2 separate regions of the Homo sapiens genome follow, and region 2 is linked to region 1. Evidence: promoter capture Hi-C in 16 types of primary human blood cells and fetal thymus (Javierre and others, 2016). All regions are on one chromosome and are shown on one strand. The core of a region is centred on a gene start or on the middle of the fragment in contact, and the rest is flanking DNA. Distances in the headings are between cores, read along the strand shown.

Region 1 (4,638 bases), core at 792-3,291:
AGAGTCTAGTTCTGAAAGGAGGCGGGTGCGGAGTTATGAAAATTTGGTAAATATAAAAGTCCCGGACGCGACCGCCCGTAGCCTGCGGCCCCTGGCGGTTGAGGAGCCGCGGCGATCCTTGGTCTTCACCGCAGCAGCCAAGCCCGGCGCGCACCAACCGGCGCTGCTGAAAGTTGGAGAGCTCCCAGCTCGCCGATAGAATTCGGCGGTGGGCGCCAGGGGAATCCCTTCCAGTGCCGCAATTAGGAAAGTTTTAAAAAGTAAGGACCCTAGACAGACAAGAGATCCATCCTTTCCTTTAGCATAAGAAACACCCCGCGCCGCGCCAGCCGAACGCTGCTCGCACAAGGCTATCCGCCCTTCTTGGCCGGGACGCACTCGGTGCCTTCCAGCTCCCCACCAGAACTGGTCCAGGGGGCGCGGAAACAGAGAGGCAACTGTGTCCGGCTTGTGGTTCCAGACGGAAACGCCTCCGGGCTCCCTGGCCCGGGGGACAAGGGTTCGAAACTTCAACAGTCGCGAGGGCAAGGACAGAACTACCAACTCCCGCTCGGATGCCCGGGACCTGCTCTTCCAAGCCCGCTCCGGTTTCTCCAAAGGACGCGCGGCACAGCCCATGCGCCCCCGGCACTCCACTCCACTCCTCTATGGTTTCCCCCAAACTCTTCCCGGGGAGCCCCACAAAGCACAGACGGCGCCCTGAAACTCGCCAGGCACTCGCCAGCCATCCCCACCTCCGCCTCTCGAACCCTCCTTGTCGCGTTCTTCCCGCCCCGCACCTTTCTCCTCGCGTTTCTGGGAAGTCAGAAGCAAACCACGAGAAAATGCCTTCGCAAGGAGCCTCCCTACACCCGCCCTGTCACTGAAACAAAAGCGTAGGGAGGAGGGAGGTGGGAGAGGAGGCGGGAGGAAGGTTTAGAAAGACGATGGGGACAGCAGTAGGAAGGAGCTGGGGAGGGGGGTCAAGGTGGCAAGCAGAGCTGGGGGCCCAGAGTCCGCTCCCGTGCCGCGCGGCGAGTCGCTTACATGCCCAGGTCGCTGTAGGTGTTGAAGAACTCCATCTGATTGCACGCCTGAATCCAGCCCACCACCCAGGTCTCGTGGCGGGGGATGGGGGGCATGACCACGCGGGCGGAGGCTTTGAAGTAGGGGGTCTTGTAGCGCAGGACGATGGGCGAGGTCTCCTCGATGCGCGTGGGGCACTGGTCGATGGTGGCGCACACATCGTACACCACGATGTTCTCGCGCCGGATCCGCGCCTTGCAGGTGATGCTTTGGATACAGCCCATCCTGCAGCCCGGTGCCGGCACGGCGCGGCGTGGGGCAGCGCGGGGGCCCGCGCGGGCAGCCGGGGGCGCCCGTCACGCCGGCATGGCGACGCGCCGCTCGCTCCCGGTCAGACTCAGCTCGCACCTAGGAGCGGGGAGCCGCCGGGCATCCTTGGGGAAGCCCCCTCCTCTTGCAGCCGCGCGGGGTCCCCGCTGCCCCGACGTCCGCCCACGCCCGCCCCCTCGCTCCGGCAGGGCGCGCGGAGGGTGCACTCCTAGGAGGCGGCGGGTGCCCTCGCCGGCTCCAGCGCCCGGGCGGAGGGCAGGGAGGGGAGCGGCGCTGCGAGGAATGGTGCCCACCCCGGGCCGGAGCCCCCCGCCCCTCGCCGGAGAGGAGGAGGCGGCAGCGGCGGCGGCATGGAGCCGGGGGAGGGCGGCGGTGGCAGCGCCCGGTCTGTCTGCCTCCGCGGCGGCAGCAGCAGCAGCCGCCGCCGCCGCCGCCGCTGCATGAACCTCTGCACCACGGCTGCCCCCCGCGTGCAGCGCACCCAGCGGCGGGCGAGCGGGCGGCCCAAGAGGCAGGCGGAGGCAGCAGCGGCGGCGGCGGCGACCGGAGCTCCCGCCGGCCCCGCCCCGTAGCCGGACCACACCGACACTCCTCGGCCCGGCTGCCTCGGCCCGGGGGGCGCCAGGAGGCTGTGGCCCGGGGTGGAGAGCCCCAACGGCTGGAGCAGCACAGGACGTGCTCCGCGGAGGAAACTGGCTGTACGCCATGAGTTTTGTCCCTATTCGGCTGCCGTCCGGGTGGGGGGGGGGTAATGTGTAAGGGTGGGGGTGTTTAAAGGGCCGCTAGCGCCGGGGTGGGGCCCCGCACGTGGGGCTGAGGCGGGGCGGGGCCCTGGTAGGTGGTGCCCTGGGGTGGGGGTGGGGGACTAGGGCGGGCCCAAGCGCCACCGGGTGGGTGAGGCCGAGCAGGGCGCGGCGCTGTCCAGAGTCCAGTGGGGAACCCGGTAGCCCAGTAGGGGCTGTAGAGTGAGTGTTTCGGGCAGCAGAAGGGTTAGGGGAACAGCTTTATCAGAGATTGGTCGTTATTCAGAATATAGCTTGTTGGATTAGATTTAGGCTTGAGCCCTTTTAGTATCCTACCTTCAGAAAGGGTGAAGGGCGGGCTCCAGCAGCGTTACTAAATGCAGTGTATTTGCCTCTTTGCCTGACTGGGTTTGTTCTGGAAGCTCTTCTTTCCACCACTGTGTGTAGTGGGGATACCGGAAGAATCCCTCCGTACTCCAGCACTAAGTCTCTCATATGCCAGAGTTTTGGCAGACATTGGGCATTGTGTACAGTATGACCACGGTCATGTGTCTGATACTGCAGTCTAATGTGCCAAACAGGAAGAATATTTAGCAGATGCTTTTACTAGGCATCTTCTTACATTTTTATTTTCAAAGCCAATAGCTTCTAAGTATTTCTTCTGCGATCATTGAACATTTGCTGGATCTGCTGCCCAAGTGTGAAATACTGACTAACAGGCCGCAGGAGGTGCTAGAGTTAGTCTTTAGCTAGGACAGGTGTGACGAGTAATTTAAAAATTGATTGAGATCTAAAAGCACTCTTCATCCTTGTTTTAACTGTTCTGACACCTTGGTTCACTTTATAGTTAACAAAAAAGCAGTTTTTCCCTTTGATGACTCGTCTCTCTCATTTTACCGTGTAGCCACAGACCTCAATCACTGGTCCTTTCATTCAGCAAAGGCTGACTGCCTGCCTGGCAGGAGCCAAACATAGTGCTAGGTACTAGGGATTCAAAGTTGAAAAAGAGCACATGGATCACTGGAGAAAATAAACCTGTTAACAAGTTATTATAGTAAACTGTGACACCTGCTTTAGTGGGGTTGTGTATCCAGTGCCGTGGAAGGCCAGACATGTAAATCTCTGGCCACATGTAAATCCCTCAGTGGTCAGAGAGCCACTCAGTGGCTCTCTGGCCACTGAGAGATTTACGTGTGACTTTGCTCAAGTAGTGACATTTAAATTGAATACTGACAGACTGTAGAGTCTCACTGAAAAGAGAAAGGTGAATGAGTAGTACAGGACCAGCATTTGGCAAATGCAAAATGCATAGAGATATGAAAGAACTCATCCTGTACTGAGGGGGAGAAACAACTCACAGTCAAGGCATTTCTCAAGGTGTTATGTGTCGACCATGGGCATCAGAATCACTGTCCAAGAATCAATTGGTTGTTGATAGACCATATCTTTTTTCTTTTTAAAATTAAGACTACAGACTTTATTTTGATTTTACTAGTTTTTCCACTAATGTCTTTTTTTCTCTAGAATCTAATCCAAGATATGATGTTGCATTTAGTCATTACATCTCCTTATTCTTCTCAATCTGTGACAGCTTCTCAGTCTTTCTCTGTTTTTCATGACCTTGACATTTTTAAAGAGGACTGGTCAGATATTCTGTAGAATTGTTCCTCATTTGCATTTATCTGATGTTTCCTCATGATTAGACCAGGGTTTTGGATTTGGGGGATGAATACCATGAAGATGAAGTGCCTTCTCATTGCATTATGTCAGGGGTACATGATAGCAATATGACTTTTTACTGGTGTTATTAACCTTGATCACTGGGTTTGGTGAATAATTTTTTTAACTTTTAGGTTCAGAGGTACAGGTGCAGGTTTGTTATATAGGTAAATTGCATGTCATAGGGGTTTGTTGGACAGATTATTTTATCACCCTGGTAATGAGGATAGTACCCAATAGGTATTTTTTTTTTATCCTCTGCCTCCTCCTACCCTTCACCCTCTAGTAGGGCCCAGTGTCTTCTCTTGATAGGACCTTATCTTAAACTTCAGTGGAAGCCAATGAAGGCAAGCCATGCATTTTGAGAAAAATTACTCTGCATCCATATAGAGAATAGAGGAGGCAGCGTTTCAGAATATTGTGATGACAGATACTTTGACCCTCGGCTAGCTTGGGGCAGTGCTGTGGGGCTGGAGAGGCCTGGCTGCATTTGCATTTAAGAATCACTTAGGAGGTAAATGTATTTACTTGGTAACTGAACAAGGTGATAGAAGGGGAAGCAGCTTGGGACTGTGGGTGATGTCATGTTAAGTTCGAGGTTCTTGGAGGTATTTGGGGGGCAGGGTGGGGTCAGAGTTTGAGTTTCAGTGGTTATTAGGTTCCAGGCAATAGACCAAAAGGAAAGCATTTCATTGGGGAATGTAGTTATGTTTCTTAATTTGAGTTGCTTGTCAGGCTGCAGTTTTGTGGATAAATAACTCCTTTGTCTTCTGGTGACACATGTTAAACCTTCATAAACGGGGAGGGGAATGGCAGCCTTTCCCAAAATATAGGGAAATCA
Region 2 (4,638 bases), core at 844-3,343, 240 kb before region 1:
ATGCACATGTATTTTTAAAGAGTTCCATTGATAACTGAGTTTCTCCTGACCAGAAGGTGGACTGTGGCCTAGGCATGGCAGTGCCTCCTGATTGGCTTTGGAAGCTCAGCTCCATCTGTGGTCCGTTATTCTTAAAAGTGGCCACTAGAGGGTGAGAATGAGCCACAGCACAGCAAAGTCCTGTTTTAACCTTCAGAACAGCTGGAGGACGGTCAATTCAAACACACTAGAGAGCACCTATCATGTGCCAGGTACTGTGCCAAGCCCTCCCTGCCTTCCAGGACCTCATAAATGGCCAGTGGCCCCTCACATATAGACACAACTCTTGTACAAGGCAGAATGGAATGTGCACAAAGAGGTACAATCCCAACTCCTAGATCTAGGGGGTCTCAACAAGGAGGAACTGTGGGTGGCTTTCCTGTAGAACTCAGATTGGTCAGTCTGTGAGAAGGAAACTTACAGGACCTGCACCATCCACCCTCTCAGTCTCAGTCTCACCCACCTCTTCATACACCTGTTTCATGTGCATATGGCTTTACTGTTGCCTGCCAGAGACCACCCAGGCTTTGCAGTAGACTATTTGCATAACCCTGGACTAACCACTCTCTAATCTTTAATCTCTTTATTTAGGGATGATAATATCAAGTCCTTTCTACCTCATAGGATTGTGTCAGATTTAAGCAAAGTAATGAAGATCAAAGTACTTTTGAAAATTCATAAGTGCCATATATTTATGAAGCTTTAAAATAATTGTTAATATAAATTTCCCTAAAATGCCCTCAGAGTCTAGGAAGTTTGGGTGCACCATGGGCATTTACTGAATTAACTAGAATGTACACTCTTCCAGAAGAGGAGACCCACAGTAAGCCGAGGTATACCAGGCAGTTTCGGACAAATCTGAGAGCCAGGAAACAGCAGTGTCATTAAAGTGTTGGGCTGAACATTGTGCTCTGACACTCTCTGGGGAGGTGTCAGCCTGGCATCCAAGAAGGGTGGCCCTGTGGGAGGGTTATGCTCCAGACTGTGGAGAGGGGCACTTTCCTTTTCCGGGCAGGGACCCTGAGGAAGAGGAGATTAAGAATGGGTGTGGTATGATGCTGCTCTAACCCCTGAGATAAGCTTCCGAGAAGAAAAGCCACTGTCACTCACTTTTCAGGACCAATAAAGGAACTGAATGGTAGAGAGAGCTTTGCCATCTTCTCTCATGCTTGAGGAAAGGAGACTGACCCCTTCTCAAGGTGATGGGAGACTTAAAGTGCCTGTTCATGATTGGTGGCATGAGAGGGGAGGAGGAAAGACTGGAAATGTCAGTCACCATGCTTATCGCCTGCTGCGCCAAAGAACACCCCAGCGAGATCCTTAGGGCCATTTTCTTTCAGAGTCTATTTTAAAAATGTCTTTATTGATTTGATCAAACTGGTGTTTTTAAAACTTCAGTTAAGGTGAGCTTTCCATGCACACACATTGGTGTGTGTGTGTATGTGCATGTGTCAGGGGGCTGCTGGGGTGGGAATGGGGACCAAAGAGAGACTATTTTTAGAATAGCATTTCCTCTGAGGGGGTTTTAACCTGTTCTCTGCTGTTTTATGTTAGAGATTTATTTGATCATGCAGTCAACAACAGCACCAACAGCACCATCTGGTTTGCTAATAGATATTTTTTTTTTTCTGTTTCAGCCTTTATTTTAGAATTGGGGGTACCTGTGCAGGTTTGTTACAAAGGTATATTGTGTGATGCTGAGGTTTGGGGTATGACTGAATCCATCACCCAGGTAGAGACCATAGTACCCAATGTGTAGTTTTTCAGCCCCTGCGCCCCTCCCTCAGTCCCTCCTCTAATATTCCCCAGTGTCTGTTGTTGGCATTTTTATGTCCATGTATATGCAATGTTTAGCTCCCACTTATAAGTGAGAACATGTGGTATTTGGTTTTCTGTTTCTGTGTTACTTCACTTAGGATAATGGCCTCTAGCTGCATCTATGTTGATGCAAAGGACATGATTTTTTTTTTTTTTTTTTTGAGACGGAGTGTCGCTCTGTCCCCCAGGCTGGAGTGCAGTGGTGCAATCTCGGCTCACTGCAAGCTCCGCCTCCCAGGTTCACACCATTCTCCTGCCTCAGCCTCCCGAGTAGCTGGGACTACAGGCGCCCGCCACCACACCTGGCTAATTTTTTGTATTTTTAGTAGAGATGGGGTTTCACCGTGTTAGCCAGGATGGTCTCGATCTCCTGACCTCGTGATCCGCCTGCCTCGGCCTCCCAAAGTGCGGGATTACAGGCAGGAGCCACCGCGCCCAGCTGATTTTGTTCTTTTTTATGGCTGTGTAGTATTCCATGGCGAATATATACCACATTTTCTTTATCCAGTCCACTGTTGTTGGGCACCTGGGTTGATTCCATGTTTTTGCTATTGTGAATAGTGCTGCAGTGAACATATGGGTGCATGTATCCTTTTGGTAGAATGATTTATTTTCCTTTGGGCATATATCTGGTAATGGGATTGCTGGGACAAATAGTAGTTCAGCCTAACTTCTTTGAGAAATCTACAAACTGCTCTCTACAGTGGCTAGACTAATTTGCATTCTTGCCAACAGCATATGTGTTCCCTTTTCTCCATAGCCTTGCTAGCACCTGTTATTTTTTGACTTTTTAACAAAAGTCACTCTGACAGGCGAGAGATGGTATCTCATTGTGGTTTTGATTTGCATTTCTCTGATGATTAGTGTTGTTGAGCATTTTGTCATATGTTTGTTGGCTGGTTGTATGTCTTCGTTTTAGAAGTGTTTGTCCATGTCTTTTGTCAACTTTTAATGAGGTTATTTGCTTTTTGCTTATTGATTTAAGTTTTTATATCGATTTTGGGTCTTAGACATTTGTTAGATGCATAGTTTGTGAATATTTTCTTCCATTCTGTAGGTTGTCTCTTTACTTCCTCGATGGTTTCTCTTGCTGTGCAGAAGCTCTTTAGTTTAATTAGGTCCCACTTGTCAATTTTTGTTTTTGTTGCAGTTGCATTTGAGGACTTAGTCATAAATTCTTTGCCAAGGCCAATATTGAGAAGGGTATTTCCTAAGCTTTCTTTTAGGATTCTTATAGCTTGAGGTCTTACATTTAAGTCGTTAATCCGTCTTGAGTTATTGTTTGTATGTGGTGATAGGTAGGAGTCCAGTTTTATTCTTTTACCTATGTATAGCCAGTCATCCCGGCACCATTTATTGAATAGGGAATCTTTTCTCCATCGTTTATTTTTGTTGAGTTTGCTAATAGATATTTGATAATACAGAACTTGGATATGACTTTTGGACACACTTAGATGTGGAGATTTTTCTCTTGGTTGCATTTGTGTATGTGTGAGAATAAGGAGAAAGGACTAATACATGGTCATTTCTATTTGCTGCTGTAGCAGCAAGGAGAATCTGGCAGAGGTAGACTGTGTGTGTGTGTGTGTGTGTGTGTGTGTGTAAGTATTGGCCATGACACATTGACACATCCTGTAATGACACTATCTCCCATGTGCTTGTCATTCTCCAATGTGCTAGGCTTCAAAACCTCACCAGGGGGCGCAATTGTAATTTCTCGCATTCATTTCGTTCATCAACCATTTATCTAGTTAGCCTCTACTGTATGCCTGTCACTGAAATGCATTGTTTTGTTTTAAACCTCATTTGAATCCTGTGAGGTAGATTGAATTACCCCTCTTTCCATAAAGGGAATTGAGCTTTAGGAGATGTTAAGTAAATTATGTCGTCAGCAATACATGGAGAAGCCGGAATTTGAACCCGTGTTTTTCTGCCTGCAGAATGTAAACCCAATACCCTTACACCCTGCTGCCTCCCCCATGTCATGCTATCTCAAAGACTGAGTTCTGTTCTCCAACCCTCTCCCTCCTGGATATCTTTACAGTGCTCGGCTCTCCACGGAGCTACTCCGTGGAAGTCCCTGTTCACCTGACCAGCAGGTGAGCACCTCGGCCCTTAGCCTGGGTTTGTGTTTCCTTATAATATCCCTATTTGGGACCTTGTCATTCATATCTGCATTTTATTTATTGTTATTATTTTTGAGACAGAGTTTCACTCTGTTGCCCATGCTAGAGTGCAGCGGTGCGATCTTGGCTCACTGCAACCTCTGCCCTCCAGGTTCAAGCAATTCTCCTGCCTCAGCCTCCTGAGTAGCTGGGATTACAGGCACTCACCACCATGCCCAGCTAATTTTTGTATTTTTAGTACAGATGGGGTTTCACCATGTTGGCCAGGTTGGTCTCAAACTCCTGGCCTCAGGTGATCCGCCTGCCTTGGCTTCCCAAAGTGCTGGGATTACAGGTGTGAGGCATCACGCCCAGCTGATATCTGCATTTTAAAGGCACATTTCCAACTTAGATGCTATGGAAGCATCCACATTTCATTTTACCTGTCTCTGTGGCTTGGCCTAAGTCTCCCTTAAGGTGGCTGTTCCCTAAACTCAGAGTAGCTTTTGAGAGGAAGGATGCTGCCTCCGAGAGGGACAACCCTTTAAGCTATTTCCAGTTAGCAATACAGCACCCCAGTCAGGACTGTCTGGTAAGGAGAGCAGAATCTTGCTGGAGGCCACTTGAGAAAGTTAGAGGTCCATCTTGATCTGAATGATGGGACAGAGGAAACAGA

The links. The method cuts DNA at HindIII sites, captures the fragments that hold promoters and counts their contacts. A CHiCAGO score of 5 or more calls a contact.
Region 2: a fragment that was not itself captured here is called in contact with the fragment with the promoter of FAM78B in region 1 in 1 of 17 cell types (megakaryocytes); the score reaches 5.3 in megakaryocytes.

Annotation. Positions count from the first base shown.
Region 1 is chr1:166,164,960-166,169,597 of GRCh38, forward strand. FAM78B (family with sequence similarity 78 member B) reads right to left here and starts at 2,042. Exons shown (of 2, transcript NM_001017961.5): 1 at 1,027-2,042. The coding sequence starts at 1,289. It overlaps LOC112268276 (a long non-coding RNA gene), which reads left to right and starts at 918. Exons shown (of 3, transcript XR_002958633.2): 1 at 918-1,095. RefSeq lists enhancers at 909-1,811, 983-1,152, 1,253-1,302 and silencers at 1,693-1,752, 1,793-2,282, 4,317-4,376. The HindIII fragment of the contact is 5,998 bases long and covers 1-4,638 here.
Region 2 is chr1:165,924,727-165,929,364 of GRCh38, forward strand. No RefSeq gene overlaps it. Among named protein-coding and RNA genes, the nearest start is that of MIR3658, 19 kb to the left of the region's middle. RefSeq lists a silencer at 3,547-3,656. The HindIII fragment of the contact is 1,953 bases long and covers 1,118-3,070 here.